4 separate regions of the Homo sapiens genome follow, and all the other regions are linked to region 2. The links are contacts of gene promoters, found by promoter capture Hi-C in blood cells and fetal thymus (Javierre and others, 2016). All regions are on one chromosome and are shown on one strand. The core of a region is centred on a gene start or on the middle of the fragment in contact, and the rest is flanking DNA. Distances in the headings are between cores, read along the strand shown. Region 1 overlaps CCDC68 (coiled-coil domain containing 68). Region 2 holds the start of MBD2 (methyl-CpG binding domain protein 2). Region 3 overlaps CCDC68 (coiled-coil domain containing 68). Region 4 overlaps RAB27B (RAB27B, member RAS oncogene family).

What was found. Contacts are between HindIII fragments. The CHiCAGO score rates a contact against its expected background, and 5 or more counts as called.
Region 1: a contact is called between a fragment that was not itself captured here and the fragment with the promoter of MBD2 in region 2, in 1 of 17 cell types (total CD4 T cells). The highest score is 6.0, in total CD4 T cells.
Region 3: a contact is called between a fragment that was not itself captured here and the fragment with the promoter of MBD2 in region 2, in 2 of 17 cell types (M1 macrophages and M2 macrophages). The highest score is 10.7, in M1 macrophages.
Region 4: a fragment that was not itself captured here is called in contact with the fragment with the promoter of MBD2 in region 2 in 1 of 17 cell types (activated CD4 T cells); the score reaches 5.7 in activated CD4 T cells.

Annotation. Positions count from the first base shown.
Region 1 is chr18:54,931,079-54,937,001 of GRCh38, reverse strand. It overlaps CCDC68 (coiled-coil domain containing 68), which reads left to right. Exons shown (of 12, transcript NM_025214.3): 6 at 44-169; 7 at 2,054-2,182. Among named protein-coding and RNA genes, the nearest start is that of CCDC68, 25 kb to the left of the region's middle. The HindIII fragment of the contact is 561 bases long and covers 1,504-2,064 here.
Region 2 is chr18:54,222,978-54,228,669 of GRCh38, reverse strand. It overlaps MBD2 (methyl-CpG binding domain protein 2), which reads left to right and starts at 4,001. Exons shown (of 7, transcript NM_003927.5): 1 at 4,001-4,652. The coding sequence starts at 4,111. RefSeq lists enhancers at 2,077-2,617, 2,618-3,160 and a silencer at 3,911-4,300. The HindIII fragment of the contact is 9,949 bases long and covers 3,635-5,692 here.
Region 3 is chr18:54,953,598-54,958,795 of GRCh38, reverse strand. All of the region lies in intron 1 of CCDC68 (coiled-coil domain containing 68), which reads left to right. It also overlaps the pseudogene MAP1LC3P. Among named protein-coding and RNA genes, the nearest start is that of CCDC68, 3.3 kb to the left of the region's middle. The HindIII fragment of the contact is 3,121 bases long and covers 1,878-4,998 here.
Region 4 is chr18:54,836,526-54,842,009 of GRCh38, reverse strand. All of the region lies in intron 1 of RAB27B (RAB27B, member RAS oncogene family), which reads right to left. Among named protein-coding and RNA genes, the nearest start is that of RAB27B, 11 kb to the right of the region's middle. The HindIII fragment of the contact is 3,513 bases long and covers 1,964-5,476 here.

The sequences.
Region 1 (5,923 bases), core at 535-3,034, 710 kb before region 2:
TTTGTTGTAAATGTCAGAACATGCATAGTGACCTTTTTTCTAGCTGCAAGCCTCCAGAGAAGCAGGAGCAGCAGCTCTGAGAAACGTGGCCCAGAGATTATTTGAAAACTACCAAACGCAATCTGAAGAAGTGAGAAAGAAGCAGGAGGACAGTAAACAATTACTCCAGGTACCAAACATGCAGCTTGTCTATTGGAGAACTAGCCCCCACCCTGAGCTGTTGAAGTTCATCTTTCTAGAAGAGTTAGAAATGAAACAAGCAATGGCCAAGTGACTTGGCAAAAGACTTGGGAAAGAAGCGGTGTGCTTGTCTCTTTTGCCAATTTCTCTCACCCCTGCTTAGCCGGACACCCCAGATGTTGCTGAGCTGCTGTGTTGCAGTTCTTGCCCAGAGCCCCCATGAGCACAGGTGGGAGGGAGGCAGTGCCACCCTGCCTGGAAATCTGGACTGGCTCTGCGGAGCTGGGCTGGTAACTTCTCTTCGGGCTCTGCCGTTGACTCGCTAGATGGCCCAGACTGAGCCATTCTTCCTCTCTGGATTTGGGTGTCCTTGTCTCTAGAATGAAAGAGTTGGGCTAGACACATGCTTTCAAAATTGTTTTGGTCTTAGGATAGATACTTCGGATTTAAAAAAACAGAAAACAAAATATGTATCTATATATTTTTAAATAATATATAAAGTTATATATTTTATATATTTATATTTTTATATATTATTTAAAAATATATAACTATATATTTTTAAATATATATAACTATATATTTTTTAAAAATATATAGATATATATTTATCTATATAAATAATTATATATATTTATCTATATAATTATAATATCTAATATAATAAATAAATATATAATATCTATATAAATAAATATATTTATCTATATAAATAATATAGTTATATATTTTTTAAAATATAAATTTAGATGCTTTTATATTTTAATATGTAAATATGTATAAATTTTAAAAATAAAAATCATGTACAGACACTCAAACATATTCTTTTTTGTTCATTTGTTTTTAAATCTGAAGTATATATACTAGGACCAATAAAATCTGTCTGAAAAATATATTCTAGAACTGGAGGAGTCAAAAAAGTGTGTGTATGCCTGTGTGTGTGTGTTTGCCAAAATTAAAACTATAAAACAGCTAATAGGAAAGTTCATTCATCATAGTTTGGGGCACCCAGGTGTCTGTCAGCTCAGGCTCTAAGAAGGTCCTCAGGGGAGTACAGTAGGAAATTCACTGCCTAGGTGACACCCTTTCATGCATCAGGCTGTGGTAGTGATGGTTGCAAACTCACATGCATGCTGGGTGCAGATGAAGAACATAAGCGGGAAGCGGATGAGGGTGCTATGCTATGGGGGCGCTTGTGGGGACGGGAAGTGTGCATCCCTGTAATGTGGGCTCGGCACCAGCCTGGAGTGACCTGACTGGAAGGCCCACTTGGTATTTACAAGGGAAGCCAGACACTTATTTTTCCCTGTGAAATGTCAAGCTTTGTTAAATACACACACAGAAGAGTAACAAGTTAGTCGACACAGTCCCACTGTAGCTTACTGCCTGCTAGATGGAGTCTTCTCTCCTATGATGGTTCAGAACAACCCCTGCTCTATGCCTATGAAGTAGCACCATGACACACTGAGGAGTTATTCTGCTTTTATGACACTTTCTAATTAAACATAAAACGTGTTTTAATTGAACATGTAAGGTTTTTTTTGTTCTGGATAATAATTGTTGAGAAAAAGTCAAAAATGTTGCTTTCGTTAAATTAGCATCTTTCTCTCTTATACCTGTTCAGGAAGTATGCTTTATGGTAACAAATGGAAACATTCTAGGAAGAATATTTATACATTATTAATTCTCTATTTAATGTTGTTGTAGTCTATCAGGGTTATTTTGAAGTAAACACTGAAATCAAAAGAGTAATTCTAAACAAGTATGAATTCTGAATTTTTTTGGCTAATTAGAAAATTATAGAAAGAGGTAATATGTGTATAGGTTTAAGAAAAACAGAGTTTTCACAACACAACTGATTCTCTGACCATAGGTTAACAAGCTTGAAAAAGAACAGAAATTGAAACAACATGTTGAAAATCTGAATCAAGTTGCTGAAAAACTTGAAGAAAAACACAGTCAAATTACAGAATTGGAGAACCTTGTACAGAGAATGGAAAAGGTACGCCCCTGGAGAATTAGAGGATTTTCTTACTGACAGCATTAGGATGAGAATGAAATAAAATAATACTAAAATAAATAGGATATTAAATTAAATAAGATAATATTATGTGAAAGTATTCTTTACAATTCTTGGCCTTAGGAAGTATTTAATATTAATTTTTCCCATAAACATTTCATATGATCTATACTGTGGTGATTGATTTACCTTTCTGCAAATACTGTAGTCATATCATCATTTGTCACTTTCTCTTTCTAGGAAATATGTGACTTAGAAAGGGGAACCAGGTGAGGCTGTGAATGCAAATAATGGAAAAGATCACAAAGTCCATCTATTAGGAGTAATAATGTAGCAGTTCCCTGTAATCACAGCATTTTTATGTATTAGAGTCAGTGCAGTATCCATTTTTGGCCACCCAAGTCTACTTTGTGTTTGGAAAAACCTACGGCTGCACTAGGAGAGATACAGTTCACATTAAGAAAATCTATTCTATAGAAATTGGAACTTTAAGAAGGCATATTTAGAGAAGAGCAATAATAGAAGAAAAATTTTAAAATGTTTCATGCCATGTTCATTTAAGTAGCTGGCACTCAAAATATACACAAAAGGTGAACACATAAATTTGTGTATGTATGCCATAGAATTTAGAATTTGGACAAATCAAGGAATATTTTTTATTAGCAAAACAAAGAGAAAACTGGCATCTCTGAAACTGAATTGGGGATAGAGAAAAATATAGGCTTTGGATACTAGTAAATATTGCCCAATACATTTTTTATATTTATTGTATTTGCCTGTATTCTTTTTAGCTTTAATTTGTTTTATGAGTCTGCCTGGGTTTATGCCATTTTATAAATGTCATTTCAAAAACATCACATTTCAATATTCAGGTTTCTTACCAAAGGAAACTTGATTTGTTTAAAAATGTTTCCCAAGAATTTAAAGTTTTATGACATTGTGATTTGGTTGAATTTGTAGTCTTGGTGAAGCTCCTATGAGGAAATCACAAAAATTAAATATGCCCATTATCAAGTGGCTCTAAGATAATATTCAGCTGCATGTGTATTATGTGGAAGGTCACTGAGTGTTATACTTTAGCAGAATCACTGGGTTAGAGTCTCCTTAAGCAATTAGTTTATCCAGGCATGACAATTTATAATTATGCTGTGTTGGAAAAACTGTAATATTTGGTTGTATACTTGGTAGTGGTAGAATACTTGATCCTATAATAAATAGCTTAACAAAACTAAGATAGCACAAAGAATGTTTGCATTAAGGAAAGAAAGACAATTCTGGGAAACGAATAAATTGCTTAACCAAACAACTTGATTAACCAGCTTAAAATTTAAGTTTAGTCTAGAGCTCACGCCATCTCAAACCCAGTGATATTGGTCAGGTTTAGTGGCAACCGTCACTGCCCCCAAATTAACAAAAGAACAGGCTGGGCATGGTGGTTCATGCCTATAATCCCAGCACTTTGGGAGGCCGAGGTGGGCAGATCATGAAGTCAAAGAGATCGAGACCATCCTGGCCAACATGGTGAAACCCCGTCTCTACTAAAAATACAAAAATTAGCTGGGCATGGTGGCACGCACCTTTAGTCCCAGCTACTTGGGAGGCTGAGGCAGGAGAATTGCTTGAACCCAGGAGGCGGAGGTTGCAGTGAACCGAGATTGCACCACAGCACTCCAGCCTGGTGACATAGCGAGACTCCGTGTCAAAAAAAAGAAAGAACAGTGGAAGATAATTTCTATTTCCTAGTAATCCCAAGAAATGTGTACTAGATGTTAGTTCATCTCAGAGTTCTGGGGTATATTTACTTGACTGTTTACTAAACAAATATTTGAACACCACCATGTGTAGCATAGAACTAGGGGCTGAATATATATTTGTGAATGAACCAGACAGTCTCTTTTTGTGGAGATGACAATGTAGTATATCTGGATTGTGTGAGGCTCAAGGAACTTCCCAGATCTCCCTTTCTTAATTCCTCTATGAGTCCTTTAGGGAGGCTGAAAGCCCAGTCAAAGGCAGAGGAGCATGCCCCAGAATAAGGTTCAGTGGCTCAGATCCTGGCAGGACATTCTTGGGAAGTGATGGCCTATCTCCTGCCCTGATAATAACTCGCAACAGTGGGCTGTCTCCAGGAGATCTTGGACAAAGGAAGCAGACAGGATGCACATGGCTTAGTAAGGCCATGCAGCAACCTTCCAGAATAGTTCAGTGACTTTCTGGAGGGCAAGCCTACTGGAATCTCTGGAGGGTGGAGGTAAGTGTGGATGATGTGGAGGGGAAATGTGCAGTTTTATTTAAAATAAAAAATGATTTAGGCCAGGTGTGGTGGCTCACGCCTGTAATTCCAGCATTTTGGGAGGCTGAGGCAGGAGGATCGCTTGAGGCCAGGAGTTCAAGACGAGCCTGGCCAATATGGTGAAACCCTGTCTCTCCTAAAAAAAAAAATTCAAAAATTAGCTGGGCATGGTAGCATGTGCTTGTAGTCCCAGCTACTCTGGAGGCTGAGGCATGAGAATCACTTGAACCTGGGAGGTGGAGGCTGCAGTGAGCCGAGATGACGCCACTGCACTTCAGCCTGGGTGATACAGCAGGACTCTGTCTCAAAAAAAAAAAAAACCAAATTGGTTTAAAAATATTTTATATTTGTGAAACAAGCAAATAAATAAAACTATAAGGAATGAAGTTTGGCAACTTCTTGGTTTAAAGAGAGACTGAGAAGACAGGCTGTGAGGAAGGGTGTCTCAGGTGGGGAGCGCAAGCCAGAGTAAGGGGAGGGTGTACTGGGCCTTTTGTATTAATAGGAAAAAGACACAAGTTCAAAAAGAAAGTAAAACTTAAAAACAAACATCCTCACAAAGGTTGATAAATATTGGCCTGGTCGTAGGTGCCCCCTGGAGAAAAATTTACTTGCTACTCACTTGAACAATCCACCGCTCCAGTAAATAGCCATTAGTAGTATGAGGTCTGGTAATGAACATATTACTTAAAACCTTCACCGTCTGTCCCACTTTAATCAGGAATGCAGTGAGAATGAATTCCATAAGCACAGTGATAAGCTAGCAAAAATGCCCAATAAGAGCATTTTAATATGGCATATGTTCCGTTTGCTAGCAGTGCAATTCTGTTACATCATATTTGTTTTCTAGTGTCATTGATTTAGCTCCATTGCAATTTTAGAGCTCAAAGGCACTTTTGAGACCACCTAGTTCCTCATCATCATTTTATAAATGAGGACAGCATGAACCAGAAACTATTCCACAATCCTCCACTTTCTAGATCACAACCCTTTCCATTATGCCCCCGTCTTCTCTAATGCTGGACAAAAATGATAGACTTGGTTCCAAAACATTTAGATGTTAGCATTTGGCAATGATTGAAATTGGTGCCCTCTCCGATCAGCCTGGTGAGGGAAACCTGGAGCTGTCTGGAGGTATGGCTCTGGGAATAGTGGGGTTGCCCACTGTGTGGTGCTGTGAACTCCCTTTCCCTTTCCTGAAGACATTGCCTGAGAAGCGCTATCTGGTATGGTGAGATTTTCTGTATTGTCAAAGAGGAGGCAAAAAGAACCCAAGCTAGATGGCAGAGCCTGGCCAAGGGAGAGCATTTACTTGTCCGGTTGTCTGGTCCCCTTGACCCCTGTTTATGAAAATCCATTAACCAAGAGTAAGTCTATTTAACATTTGTTAGGCACTATTTTCCCTCACCCTACAAATTCAAAATACATTA
Region 2 (5,692 bases), core at 2,752-5,251:
TGGCCTGCTTGATGGTCACTAGGTGATCTCTGCCCCCTTCATACTACAAGCACTTGCACTGGAAAGTGTCATTTGGCCTCCTGACATGCTGTGCCTGGGAATTAGGTGAGAACAGTAGTTGGGCCAACCTAGTGAATCATAAAACCTGTTAATTAGTGCTGGAAAATGTCCTCCCCCCACCACCCCTGGCTGTGCCCTTACTCCTATGTAATGTCTTGATAAATTCTGACCTTACTGTTTGGAGTCTAAGAGAAAAAAAGCCTAATGTCCCTGTTACCCCTTGATGCAAAAATGCTCATTGAAAAAAGTAAGGTTTTCCAATATTTGAAACGTTTTTCTGGCTGGGTGCGGTGGCTCACTCCCGTAATCCTAGGGCTTCGGGAAGTGGGGCGGGAAGATTGCTTGAGCCCAGGAGTTTGAGACCGGCCTGGGCAATACGGGGAGACTCCCATCTCTACAAAAAAAAAAAAAAATTGTCTTAATTAGCTGAGTGTGATGGCACGTACCTGTGGTACCAGTTACACAGGAGGCCAAAACAACAACAAACCAATAAACCAATCAACCAACCAAACAAAAAACCAAAAAACAAAAACCAAACCAAACCAAACAAACAAACAAACCAAAAAAAACACCTGCTTTTATTGGGTATTTTATCACACTCAAAGATTTAAACGCAGGTTATATATTTGACAAAATATATAGTTCTCAAAATCAGTCTCACCTCCTAATATTCTTTGAAGTTTCATTACCTGAATTTGTTCTAATTTTCAAAATAAAAATCCAAATTAACAGCTTTCTTTAAAACAACTTTTTCTTTTCTTTTCTTTTCTTTTTTGAGACTGTTGCTCAGGCTGGAGTGCAGTGGCGTGATCTCAGCTCACTGCAAGCACCGCCTCCTGGGTTCACGCCATTCTCCTGCCTCAGCCTCCCGAGAAGCTGGGACTACAGGCGCCCGCCACCTCGCCTGGCTGATTTCTTATATTTTTAGTAGAGACAGGGTTTCACCGTGTTAGCCATGATGATCTCGATCTCCTGACCTTGTGATCTGCCTGCCTTGGCCTCCCAAAGTGCTGGGATTACAGGCGTGAGCCACCGCGCCCGGCCACAACTTTTTCTTTAATGGCTTAACTTCATTCAGCTTTACCTGCTAAACAATAAAGGGAAAAATCAAAGAAAGAATAGTCTTCTAGGGGTGACAGTTGGTGTTTTAGCACCTGCCTTTATACCTGGGAGGCAGAGATCACAGGTGGTTACATCTCTGTTGTTCATTTAGTGGACCAGATTTCATACATAATCCTATCTTGCTTTTGTCTTTCACTTTCTCCAAGAGATAAGCTAGCAAACCTTCTCCATTGTAAGAGAGACCAAATTGAAAATTTGGTCACAACTTTACTACCCGAGAAAAATAACGTTGCTATGCTTCCTGGAGGAGTGATAGAAAATGCAGTTTCCGAGAATTATAAAAGGTTTATTATTTGTCCAGTATTTTAAGAGAAACAAAGGGGTCTGTCTCTCAGGTATTTAGCATCTATTCTTAACCCTTTTAGATCTCAATCTAGTCCCCTTTGGAATTTATTGTTGCCTTAATTGGAGTATTTTTTTTTCTTTTAGTGGGAGAATAAATAAGAGCATTTATTTTTATTTTATATATATATATATATATATATATATTTTTACTTTGCTCTATGGTATCACAGCAGAAAAGTTCAAGTGTAACCAAAAAGCTTTTGACATGTCTAAATGAGATTTTTCTTAACAGAGGGAACATTAAGCTACATCTTCTGGGATTTAGCAAATGGAATCTGGTAGTAGAAGTTAAAATAATGACCCGAAAATCCTGTGATTTATTTCTTTAAGCATGCTTTTATATCCAATATATCATTTGATCTACAGCCTTATTAGCACAGCATGAAAAGGTAGAATTTTCCAAAAGCATACCTGTTCCCATCTGTTGTCTCAACTACCTGTCTCAATTACCGTTTCTACTGAGATTTTTGCTCATGTTTACCCTTTACTTTCAATTATGTGTGAAAATCAGAGTACTCTCTTATGTCATACAAACTTTAATATCATTTTTTTCCTTTATTCCTTCAGTGGAACCTTAAGTATTGGCATTCCTCAAGATTCAGTTCTTGATCCTCTTTCCTTTTATTATTAACCACGCAAGCCCTTCCTTGGAGAGCTTACTTACTTCCAGGGCCTCCTTCAACTGTCACTTTCACAAATGACTTTTTTTTTTTGAGACGGAGTCTCGCTCGGTTGCCAGGCTGGAGTGCAGTAGCGGGATCTCGACTCACTGCAATCTCCGCCTCCCGTGTTCAAGCGATTCTCTTGCCTCAGCCTCCCGAGTAGCTGGGATTACAGGCGCACGCCAGCACGCCCAGCTAATTTTTGTATTTTAATAGAGATGGGGTTTGACCATGTTGGCCAGAATGGTCTCTATCTCTAGACCTCGTGATCCGCCGGCCTCGGCCTCCCAAAGTGCTGGGATTACAGAAGTAAGCCACCGCGCCCGGCCACAAATGACTTCTTTTTTTTTTTTTGAGACAGAGTCTCGCTCTGTCTGCCAGGCTGGAGTGCAGTGGCGTGATCCAGTTCACTGCAAGCTCCGCCTCCCGGGTTCACGCCATTCTCCTGCCTCAGCCTCCGGAGCAGCTGGGACTACGGGCGCCCGCCACCACGCCCAGCCAATTTTCTGCATTTTTAGTAGAGACGGAGTTTCATCGTGTTAGCCAGGCTGGTCTTGAACTCCTGACCTCAGGTGATCTGCCCGCCTCTGCCTCCCAAAGTGTTGGGATTACAGGCGTGAGCCACCGCGCCCGGCCCACAGATGACTTCTAAATGAATGTCTCCAGTACTGATCTCCTCAGAACTCATTTCTTGATGATTTTTTACATTCACATTTCTAAATTTCTTGTAGGAAACCACAAATTAGTGTCTTTCAACTAAAGGACATTAAAAGAAGACTAAGGTCAGGTTTAGAGACAGACAAGTTTGTGTGTATGAGTTAATGTTTGCATATACTGCAAAGATAAACCAAATTAATTTTAGATTTTTGTTGCTTTATATTAATCAACTTTTTCTATACGTTAAACTTGGTCCTCAGTTTTTAGGGCATATGAGTATAGAAACCCAAGATAGCTTATCATCAGGCTGATAACATGTGCTTTACATTTTTCAATCTTCCAAATATTTCATAATATATTATCTTGAATATCAATAGCACACTTCTATAAGTGTTCGACAACTTATAGAAAATATGCATTTCTAAAATTCAAGTTGGCAGACCGAAAAGAATACCACACAGTTTCCTAAAGGCTTGTGACAGTAAGTTAGGCTGGACTTTCAACATAATGGAATATTTACCAAATAAAAGGCCACTGATTTTTGTATTAGACAAAGACATCTGGAAATTTCTAGATGGATTTAGGGATTCTGGTCATTCTAAGGAGAATCTAGAGGTAAGCCCCATCTGACTCATGGGCATATTCCAAGTTATCATTTCCTTTCCTACATCCTTACAAGGTTCCAGGAGAATCTGTCAATGGCTCTGAAGCCAGGCTCAGGAGGGAACTGGTATTCAGCGAATGGGACACTTTGCTTCATTCCTTCATTATAAGCTCCCCTGCAAGCTTTGTGCAGAGGGGCGGGAAAAGGGGCTATCACCCCCTTAAATGAATAGCCGAGTTGGTATGTAATATAAGATCTATTTTGCTTGTTATTCATTAATTGGGAAGCAAACATAGGTAAAATCACATAATGGTGGAGGTTACCCCGTTTGAAACAAACTAACCACAGTCACTATGACACCCCCAGCTGGTGGCTAGCCCGACCAACCTTCCCAGCTCCGCGCGCCCAGTGGGGGCCGGAAAAGCGCGGGAGGGGGCGTGGCCCCGAGAAGGCGGAGACAAGATGGCCGCCCATAGCGCTTGGAGGACCTAAGAGGCGGTGGCCGGGGCCACGCCCCGGGCAGGAGGGCCGCTCTGTGCGCGCCCGCTCTATGATGCTTGCGCGCGTCCCCCGCGCGCCGCGCTGCGGGCGGGGCGGGTCTCCGGGATTCCAAGGGCTCGGTTACGGAAGAAGCGCAGCGCCGGCTGGGGAGGGGGCTGGATGCGCGCGCACCCGGGGGGAGGCCGCTGCTGCCCGGAGCAGGAGGAGGGGGAGAGTGCGGCGGGCGGCAGCGGCGCTGGCGGCGACTCCGCCATAGAGCAGGGGGGCCAGGGCAGCGCGCTCGCCCCGTCCCCGGTGAGCGGCGTGCGCAGGGAAGGCGCTCGGGGCGGCGGCCGTGGCCGGGGGCGGTGGAAGCAGGCGGGCCGGGGCGGCGGCGTCTGTGGCCGTGGCCGGGGCCGGGGCCGTGGCCGGGGACGGGGACGGGGCCGGGGCCGGGGCCGCGGCCGTCCCCCGAGTGGCGGCAGCGGCCTTGGCGGCGACGGCGGCGGCTGCGGCGGCGGCGGCAGCGGTGGCGGCGGCGCCCCCCGGCGGGAGCCGGTCCCTTTCCCGTCGGGGAGCGCGGGGCCGGGGCCCAGGGGACCCCGGGCCACGGAGAGCGGGAAGAGGATGGATTGCCCGGCCCTCCCCCCCGGATGGAAGAAGGAGGAAGTGATCCGAAAATCTGGGCTAAGTGCTGGCAAGAGCGATGTCTACTACTTCAGGTACCTCCCTGGGGGCGGGGAGGGGGTGGCGGGGTCAGGCCGGGGTCAGGGGTCAAGAGCGGGCCTGGGCAGAGGATGAGCGCTGGGGCCCGGGGGGCATGTGGCAGGGACAGGCTGGTTTGGTGGTGGAAGGTGGCGGAACCCTTGGGTGAGAGTTGACCCCAGTGCGGTGGGAGGCAGTGTCAAAAGGTGAGGGCCCGCAGGAGGGCATCTTATGTGGAAGGCGTCGGGGAAGATGGTTTGCGAAGAAAGGGTTAGCCTGGCAGGGATGGTTAGTCCACTGAAGGGTTAAAAGGAGGTGTAATTCATCGAAACTATAAAACCCAGTCACTGTTGGCTCCTGTCCCAGCCTGTCCCAGATTCATCATCACAAGTGTTAAGCATGCACATGTGGAAGAATGAGCTATCTACAGTAACAAGGTTTCATTTACTTCATCCAAGAAAGTTTTGTATAAAGCAGCTATTTGGAATGCCTGAAGTTTTTTTGGAACTTCTTGGTATTGCAGAATATACTCTTTTGAAACTGACACACTGTACTAAGTTTTTAGACTCCTAGACCAAAATTTGCTCCCCAGGGAACATTTGTCAATGTCTGGAGACATTTTCGGTTCTCACACCTGGGGAGGGTGTGATACTGGCATCTAGTGGGTAGAGGCCAGAGATGCTGCTACATATTCGATAATACAAAGGAAAGCTGCCACAACAAAGAATGATCTGGCCCAAATTGTCACCTGTGCTGAGGTTGAGACATCCTGTTTTAAATGATTCAAGGTTTTTCACCTTAGTGTAATCTTGCAATCCCGTGGTCATGCTGCTGATGTCTTCAGTTTGTGTGACCCAGTAAGCTCAAGAAAGTGCCTATGGCAATTGACATCCGTGGACTTAATACACATTTACTAAATTTTGTAATAAGCCATGCTATTGATAGAAGATAATATAAACTTGTATTCAGTAGTTTGGAGGTACGTGTTTGTGGACTGACTGAAGCATTTTTCAGGGAATGTATATGGGTATTGGAGACAATTGTCATTTAGCTATTG
Region 3 (5,198 bases), core at 2,189-4,688, 730 kb before region 2:
TTGAGTAGCATCATGATATTTTAGATGTGGAAGTTACAGAGTGCTAGGCGGCTAGACAAAGGAACACTCTTATCTTACTGAAGGTTAGTACGGGACCGTGCAAGTGTAGTTTTTAGATTGGATGATAACATAGCTGTGAATTTTCAGCCTTTTTGGAAGTGAAGACAAAATTGAATATAAGGATCAGAACAAGCAACAAGCCCTGAACATAACTGAAGGTGTACCTGCTCCCCATTATATTCTGATTGTTTTATTTTAGGAATCAAAACCTCTTTTACTTTCTTGGTGTATATAGTTCGGATGAAGTGTCAGAATACAAAAAGGAATTATTCTGTGTTTGTGATAGGGAGGAGATAATCTGTTCTTTTGATTTTACCTAATGCCATTAAATATTCAGAGCTACTGAAGTCTGGTTTTCCTGATATGTGAGCTGGGCAGGAGTGTCAGGTACCCTGGCAGACACAATTGGTGCTGTTGTTATGCTTTTCCCCCGCTGCCCACTCTCTTCCCCACCCCACTCCCAATTTGAGAGGGAAGGCCCCTGACACAGAGGAATTTCTGCCCAAGGCAGGGAGTATCCCCGTGTGGTTCCTCAAATGTTTGCAGAAAGAATGAAAACAACTACACTTCTTGGGACCCAGGCCAACGTCATAAGGCCGACGTCATAAGAAGGTTCTTTCCTCTTGTTATTTACAAAATAAATTGATCCCTTGTCCTAACTAGAAAGAGACTTTTGAAATTAATACTGTTGCTATTTTGTGAATTACTGATAGGCATGTTATTTGTTAGCTTATTTGTTTACAGTATGCTCAACATTGAAGGTGAGTTGTAATCCAAATTTTGGCCAAAGCTAAAAAATGTAAGCTAGATTTAGACAAACCTGAAAAATGAGGTGTTTATTTGCTTGGAATAATGACTGAAAGGGGAAATAACTGAAGATTTTGATGGGAATGTAAAAGTCTTTTAAAATAGTAGTTTCTCATCTTTAGAACTGAGATATTTACATCAAAATTATATGGCTATTTATTGATTGAAAACATTTCATAATGGCAAAATTTTACCATGAATTTACTAACACGTTTAAATGAATGTCATTTACTAAGCACAAAAACAGCCATTTATATAGGTTTGGAAAATGAGAGAGAGAGAGAGAGAGAGAGAGAGAGAGTGTGTGTGTGTGTGTGTACATTGTTTTAGAAACTATTTGGTACATCTGTAAATTTGTGGGCCTATTCATGTATTCATTGAAACAATATTTATTGAGGACACTGTGTTCTGTGTGGGAGAACCAGATGGGAGGGGAAGTAGGGTCTGGGCCAAACACAGCCCTGTGTAAATCAGACACATTTCTATCCTCCTGGAATTTACTACATTGGAGTCCTCCAGGCCACCCCAAGTCAAGGCCATAGATTTACAGACCACATAAATGATCCATTCAATTTCGACAGTGACTAAAACTAGATTAGTTTCAAATCACATATTTCCTTTCACTGATTTAAAAAGTCAAGTCTAAAAATGATAGAGGAGCTTGCATGTTATTCTGCTCAGTGGTTTTCTCTTTTGTTTAGGTTGGGGAAGAACTTAGGAATCATGTGTTCCAGGCTTAATGTTATGAAATATTAACTTAAAATAGCTAAGTATCAATTTCATGCAAATTAAATAAAAACTAAACTTGTAGTATGGATGACAATAATCTAGAGACAAAAATTAATGAACAAAAAATTTAAAACTGAAAAACATCTATCCATTAAATTATATTTTTTCCTATAAATTAGAAAAATAAGACTACAGTTACATTCACCCCACCCCCAGAGGAAAACAGCATCTTTATTCAAGTTATTCTTACTTTTCCTTCTGTATTTTTTTTTAAAAAAGCTTTATTGGAGGTATAATTTACATACCATAAAATACATCCAAGTGTATAATTCAATGATTTTTGGTAAATTTACTGAATGGTGCAACCATTAGCACAATCCAATTTTAGATCACTTCATCATTCCCCAAATATCCCTGGGGCCTGTTTGCAATCACTCACCGTTCTTACCCCAGCCCCAGCAACCCCTAATCTATTTTGTCTGTTTAGATCTGCCTTTTCTGGACATTTCATACAGATGGAATCGTACAATATATAGTCTTTAGCATCTGGCTTTTTTCAGTTAGAATAGCTGTTGAGGTTTATTCAGGTTGTCACATGTAGCTGTAGTTGGTTCCTTTTTATTGCTTAACTAGGATTTATTCCATGCCATGGCTATGCCGCATTTTGTTCACCATTTGGTAGACCTTTCTGCAAATACTTTTGCATGGTAAAACAGATACATTGGTGCAGCTTCTATGGTAGCATAATGTGAGAATAACTGATATGAGCCAACCTCTTATTTGGTGCTTTGACTCTCTTCTATGATAATTTTAAATATGAATGCCAAGAGTTAAACATCCAGGTTCCTATTAAGCAGTGGTGTTTTCTGTGTGTAACTCTCCAACAAACCAATGTTAAGAACTTCTTACCTTGGCTGGGCACAGTGGCTCACACCTATAATCCCAGCATTTTGGGAGGCTGAGCTGGGCAGATCACGAGGTCAGGAATTCGAGACCAGCCTGACCAACATGGTGAAACCCCATCTCTACTAAAAATACAAAAATCACCTGGGCGTGGTGGCATGCGCCTGTAATTCCAGCTACTCGGGAGGCTGAGGCAGGAGAATCGCTTGAACCAGGGAGGCAGAGGTTGCAGTGAGCCAAGATTGCACCATTGCACTCCAGCCTGGGCAACAGAGCAAGACTCGTCTGAACTTCTAATTTTCCCCAGCAATTTGGGAGGCTGAGGCAGGTGGATCACCTGAGGTCAGGAGTTGGAGACCAGCCTGGCCAACATGGTAAAACCCCTTCTCTACTAAAAATGATTTTTTAAAAATTAGCTGTGTGTGGTGGCATGCGCCTGTAATCCCAGCTCCTGGGGAGGCTGAGGTAGGAGAATTGCTTGAACCTGGGAGGTGGAGGTTGCAGTGAGCTGAGATGTCACCACTGCACTCCAGCCTGGGCAACAGAGCGAGACTCTGCCTCAAACAAACAAACAAACAAACAAACAAAAAAGAACTTCTTAACTTTGCAAGAACATTGACTTTTGGTATACCTCTGTTAGGAATCAGGAAACTGGAATAGCAGTTCCCAGCCAGAATTGTTTTCTTATATATCTCCACTGACCTTGCTTTGTGCTAACTATTATGGCAAATGCATTTTGAGTGGTGGGGGCGGGTCATGCTTCACAACTTATGCTTAAATATCCTCTTAGGAAGATTTCTCTAGTAGAACAGAAATCCTTTTATAAAAATCTAGCCAGTTCTGTGAGCCTAAAAAGAAGACAGTGTCTCTCTGAGTGCCCTTAAGTTACTACTCAAATTGCAAATTCCTTTTGGGGGAAAAAAAAGAGCATCAAAATAACTTGAGGTCTGTTTGTGTGTGTGTGTGTTTTTCAAGACGGGGTTGTATTCTGTCACTGACGCTGGAGTGCAGTGTCAGGATCCTAGCTCACTGAAGCCTCAAACTCCTGGGCTCAAGTGATCCTCCTGCCTCACTCAGCCTCCTGTATGGCTGGGACTACAGGAATGTGGCACCATGCCTAGCTAATTAAATTTTTTTTTTCATAGATGGGGCATCACTGTGTTACCCAGACTGGCCTCCAATTCCCAGCCTTAAGCAATCCTTCCACCTTGGCCTCCCAAAGTGCTGGGATTATAGATGTGAACCACTGTGGCCAACTTTTGAAGTCTATTTTATTGGCAATTTAGAATGCAAACTATTTTTTTTAACATCTACAATTTGAAAAGAAGATAATGTAGGTTAAATAATATAGTTTTCCAAAGCTGAATGTCTTCATTTGCAACTCATTTTTTTCTGCTTGAAATGTCAAACAACTTCCTAAAACTCCTAGATGAGAATACTACTACTGTTTTGATGATCTGTTTGTGATTGGATGGAGTAATCAATCTTGTTTGGTAATACACCTTTGTTTCCTTGGTAAGGATTTTTAAAATTCTAAAACAAATGCATTTTTTTTCTAGCCTTATACTCACGATTTTATAGCAAGTATCTCCTAAGAGGTATTTACCATCTACAGGAATCCACCTTCATCATTCTCACTTTCATATACTCCAGGGATCAGGATCAGGGCAGAGACATTCACCAAGCTATGTTGGTTTATCAAGAGAAAGAAGGCTTGATTAGTATTGAGCTGTAAGCACCTGCTATTTATTTTGATTAGGTCACTTACATTGTTGTGATCTGATACAAGGAACTTAGTTTTACCCAAAGTGGGAAGCTGCCTCTGACTCTTCTATCTTTCTATAAACACCTGGATTTTGGTAGGATGCTGCTCTTGGATAAGTCAAACGTCTTCATGGTGTGGGAGGGTGGGCGATGGTGTTGATAAAAAGTAGGGTCATGGCCCGGCATGGTGGCTCACACCTGTAATCCCAGCACTTTGGGAAGCTGAGGCGGGTGGATCGCCTGAGGTCAGGAGTTTGAGACCAGCCATAGGCAACATGGTAAAACCCCATCTCTACTAAAAATACAAAAATTAGCCGAGTGTGGTGACACATGCCTGTAGTCCCAGCTACTCGGGAGGCTGAGGCAGGAGAATTGCTTGAACCTGGGATGTGGAGGTTGCGGTGAGCTGAGATTGAGCCACTGCACTCCACCCTGGGTGACAGAGTGAGACTATGTCTGAAACAAAAAAAAAAAAAGAAAGAAAGAAAGAAAGGAAGGAGGGAAGGGAAGGGAAGGCGAGGGGAGGGGAGGGGAAGGGAGGGGAGGGGAGGGGAGGGGAGGGTCCTGGCTGTTTCAGGCCCTGAATAAGTAGATATTTTCATCATCGATCCAACAGTGTATGTGCAGATGGACAAATATGAAGAATGAAAACATATTGTGCATCTAGAAAGCTATTAGAAAAGGAATGGGTAGATGAGAAAAGAAGTTCTAGGTTCACAAATTAGATTTAAAGCTTGTTGGAAATATTCTTATATTTCTTATGTATTATTGTATATTTCCTTCTACTTTATCACCTTTAATAAACAGTGCTTATGATTAAGTTTTTAAAAATGTTTAAAAGGCTTTCCTTGTTTCTGTCATACTGAATGCTAAGTTTAATTGACTAGTCATGTAGCGTGAGCTAGAATCAGCAGCCCAGTTGCCTGTTGTTTTTA
Region 4 (5,484 bases), core at 2,471-4,970, 610 kb before region 2:
ACTGGACTCCATTTAGCTTAATCAATAAGATGTTTTTAAGGAGTCAAGCTGTTGTCTGTGATCCCTGTGAATTGTCTAAATCCTTAATTGTGAGCCATTTTATTCTATGTACTGAGTCTATTTTTGTAGGCTGGAGGACTGGAAATTGGACTGAATAGTATATTGGTGTCTTATTTCTGAAGGCAATGACTCAGGAGGCAATATAGCATTAATGATTACTCTAAAATTATTAAGGTGCAATCAACCAAAAGATCTTTTGCTATCATATATCTTTGACTTTGGCCATTTAGTTTACAACGGTGGACCTGTTTGCTGAACCTACAGTTATTTATAAGCCCACCTCTTATCCTGGTAGTTGGCTAAATTTGGCTTAGAAAATAATGTCACCATTCTCGATGGAAAAATGCTCAGGCTAGTTGATCAGTTACTAATACTTTAGTCTGCAGAATTACCACAGCATCTGCCAATTCACCAGCTCAATCTACTTACATATACAGTAGTTTCTCAGTGTTCATCGGGGATTGGTTCGAGGACCCTCGGTGGATACTAAAATCCACATGTGCTCAAATCCTTGTATAGTATTGGCATATAATGTTCTGCTATATATTTTAAACCATCTGCAGATAACTTATACCTAATGCAATGTAAATGCTATGTAACTAGTTGTTATACTATATTGTTTAGGGAATAATGAGAAGCAAAAAGTCTGTACATATTTAGGACAGATGCAATCATTTATTTTTTTCCCCAAATACTTCTTATCTGCAGTTGGCTAAATCTATGGATAATGAACCCATGGATGGGGAGGACTACCTGTATTTTTCCCGCCCCTCTCACCAAACCCCCCACCGCCCCGCCACCCAAAGACAGAGTCTTTCTCTGTTACCCAGAGCTGGAGTGCAATGATGTGATCTCAGCTCACTGCAACTTCTGCCTCCCGGGTTCAAGCAATTCTCCTGCCTCAGCCTGCTGAATAGCTGGGATTACAGCGTGCACCACCATGCCCGGCTAATTTTTGTATTTTTGGTAGAGACGGGGTTTCACCATGTTGGCCAGGCTGGTCTCGAACTCCTGACCTCATGATCCGCCTGCCTCAGCCTCCCAAAGTGCTGGGATTACAGGCTTGAGCCACCCACCGTGCCCAGCTGGCTATCTGTACTTTTAGATGTTAAATAGGTGGGAAACTGAGAACTTATTGTCAAAGATACCCAGTCAAGTGTTGTTGACAGTATTGGTGAATGAGCCTCAAATTCTATGAAATTCCCTTCCTGAGGATGGACTTAGAAACTCTACAGGAGGAAGACAAAAGGCCCTTTCTACAAGAGAGGATAGTGACCATATTTTCAGAACTATGGATCAAAACATTTATTTAACTTGTTAAATATTTATTTATTTAACCCTGAATCTGCCAGTGTAATGGAATATTTAAAGCAGTAGCTGCTCCAGAAATTCCAGGTCATAGCACTGCCATCCACTTGGGTCACATTAGATTTTACTGATAAAGTTATTTTTGCCCCAAATTCTTCTTGTACAACTCTATTTTTAAGTCTGGAGCCTCTAATATTAGGCATGACTTTGGATTTTTGTTACATGTAAACAAGCAAATATATTTACTGGGAACAGTAATTTATAGCTGTTTTTAGTCATAACTACTTTAGCAGAAATTAATTTATCAGAAAGACTGGCCAACAAATCATTGATTTCCTAGCTTGGGGGCTGCAAAATGGCACTAAGCATTGTAGAAAAACATCAAAAGAAAGAAAGATGGGCTCTGAAATAAAGTTCTAAGAAAGATTAATTTTACCCATGATTTGTACTACAAGGAAAGAACTTTACCCTCAATTAATATGAAAGATACTCAAGAAGACAATCTTACCTTCATGATAAAATAGACAAGTCATAACATTATTTGCCCAGACAGAATTTTAGGAGCCATAGAGAATGTTTGGCCTTATAAAAAGCTTCATTATTTCCAATTAAGTAGGAGAATCTGAGGATATATTATTTCTTCACAAAGTCTGCAAAAAAGCATCTTTTGTTTCTTCCTTAATAAGGTGTCATGACAAAGCAACTATTATTTATAATGTTATTGACTTATGTATAGACATTATGCTATAGTGTAAATGTACTTCTGGAAACATCACTGGAATAAATTTCATAAAAATATTCACTCCTGTAATTCTAGTATAAATTCATTTCTGATCCATGTGTACAGGGTAATTTTAAAGTCAGAGTAATGAAGTGATATTTGCTGCTAAAAAAGCAAACAGATACTCACCATTCAGTCTGCTTCTTAGACTTTTCTTAATTAGTGTTGGATTTTAGGTATACTCTCAGCATCTGGGGGTGCTAGATAGTACATCAGGACAAAGAAATAGGACCTTAGTAGATAAGAAACCTTTTCTTTTCTGCCCTTGTATTTATTTGTCCTTGGGACCCTGTGGTTTGGAGAAGACCTAACTGTTGCCTGCATTACCTAGTTCAGTTGTGCCTTGAAACCATTCCTTGGCCTGATTTTGGTAATTGGGTTACCTAAAACTGGAATCAGATTATGGCTACAATGGGAGAATGTTTGTTACTTTAACTCTCTTTCATCTTTTCCATGCTGTGTTTATTTATGGCACAAAGGTCTTGTAATCTTAGCAAGTTATATGTAAAAACTTATTCCAAAGAGAAAGCAGTAGTAGGAAAAAACAGAATTTGCAAAACTGTTCCCATTAAAGTCAAAATTACTAAAACTTTTGATTTTCTTACACAATAGCCTAGACTTGAACCCTGTTATATTCAATGAATGTATGCTTTTGCTGATAATAATTTGAAGCTGAAAACGGGGTTGCTTATTGTCAGTCTTTAGTCAAGGGTTTAACATCAATGCATATTTTCACCCTTGATAACCATGTCAAATAGTCATTATTTAAAATGATTCACAAGTGTTCATCATAAGTTGTAGGAGGACTTCTTTTCCAGCAATATTTGTATCCTTTTTCCATATTTATTATTACTGTCTCATATAAGTCCATATACTCTTTATAAAACAAGAGATTTGTCCCTATAATGTTAGCTTACTTACTAACAAAACACAAGAAAAAACACATTGATATTTCCCAAAATAATGTGAAAGGTTGATCAATTTACAGATGGAGATAACATAGAAGATCAGCAGTTGGATACTAGTTTAGTGAATAATATAAGTAGCCAAATGCTTAAGAAAAAAAATTAAAGACCACAAGATTGTATCAGAAATCTTGCCTGGAATATTTGTAGGTATGTGTCTAACTCGTAAGAGTCATTTAAATGTTCTCCATCTATGATCTCCACAACAGAAATAACTCAGATATTGCCATATTATAGGGAGCTTTTATGAAAAACATATTTGTTCAGAACTAGATGTCTCAAATGATGGATCCATAACAAAGAAAGTGTTATACACCTGAAATCCAGAAAGAACACAGAGAATATCTCAATCGAACAAGTAGGCATACAATATGTTCTCGTACTAATTATTAAATAGTCAGAAATACTTGTGATGGAGAGTGTGAAGCACCCAGATGGTGGTATAAAGAATTTTTATAAATGTAATAGAATATTCCCCAAACTTTTTCAAACAGTGGACTAGAAAAAAAATATTAACATGGAGATGAAGAAGGGGAAGAGAAGAGGCAGAAGAAGAGACAAGGTAACTTTCCCTAAATTTGGTCAATCATTTGACATGTTTTTCAAGTCAATTTCTTGACAATATTTTGCATATTATTGGAATCTACACAAATACTCATTACTAGACAATTATTCTGTAATTTTTTTAGAACATCAAGATACATTTTGTTATGCTTTGGTAAGTAGATCTTGAGGATAAAAGTGTTATCAATTTAGTGACAGCAGAGCTAGAACAAAGCTACTAATTAAAATGAAGAGAATGGGAGTTAATTTGCACTTAAATTAACATTGGCTGTACATCAATTATTAGAGCATGATATTAATGAGCCAGAATCACTTGATTCAATCACTTTCTGTTGGGTTCCCAATCTCTAGTACTAGAACATATTCCTGATTGAGACACGACTTGTCATTTTTCACAGGGTGGGTTGGGAGAGAACATAGGTGAAAAGAATTATGCATGAAGGAAACATTACTTAGTGATTGCCCCCACAGAAGCTACAGGCATATTTATTATGTCCTTCAATTGAACAACAATGATTTTAATAATAAATACATATATATACACACATATATATAATTAGATATATAACCTTAAATTTTCCCCAAGTCCTTCCAGAACTTAAATGTCTTTATTAGCCAAAGCAGAGTAGTGCTTGCAGAAAATAAAGAAAATAATTATTCCTCTCTTATGGTTACTCCACCTCCTTCTTTCCAGGACCTCCTTGACAGATGGCATTTGGTCTCATAGATTTTGGAGATCACCCGTGTGCCTGCATTTCCCAGTCATTATCACCAGCCTGACCTCTCCTGAGAGGTCTAGATTTCAAGAGTCATTTTCTTGAACGTATGCAATTGAATAACCACAGGTACCTCAAATGCAGTTCTTCTTCCTCCCCCAACCTGCCTTTCCTTTTGTATGCCTGATTTTCAATTTTGAGGACCACTATTTATCCATCTATTGCCTTAGTACAGCCAGAAATTTAGACTTTATAATAATTTCTCCTTTCCCCCAATGTCTGGTTAATGCCCACCCTCGCTAATTATTCCTTTAATATTAATATAACTTATCTTCTCCAACTTTACAATTTCAGACCTTTTGTATTTGCCACTCCTCACTGATCTCTCTACAGTTTTAACCTCCTTAAATTTATCTTCCTCTTTATTACCATAATACTGCCTTCAAACCACTAACTGAAAACTTATCAAGTTACATTAAAATTATCTGCTCATGTAACTCTCTATTTTACTAGATTCTAAGTTCTTTAAGAGTAGGAACTATATCTTACTGACAATTACAACTAAAGTACCTAATATGACCTGACAGATAGTAGGCACTTAATGAATGTTTTAAGCAAAAAATCAGATAGACAAAAATTATACCAGAGATTAAATTGGTATTGTCAGGTTTAACATGGTGACCAGGTCTTTTGTTGTAATAACATCATCAGCTTTAACCAACTTAACATTTTTCCTAATGTTTATAATGTCCTACAACAGGCAGAAATTTTGCTCCTTGAAGCATGTCATTAATTCTTGGATTTCTTATTTTCATCTTTTGGATCAAGTGACTATGCACAATGCATGTTTACTGTGGAAAACACCAATTAGAAAGCAGTTTTATGTTTAAATCCTCCGATTTTAATGTCTACACACTTTTAGAAAACATGATTCCTGAAAAATAAGTCAAAAATATTCTACTGGTTATAAAATATTGCAATGCAAACAGAACATCTTTCTTTAAACATATAGTTAATATTTATGAATTTTAATTGTTCCTTTTCTATTTTGAGTTAGTTCTCTGTTCTCAAGTTGCCAAGCTTATACCTT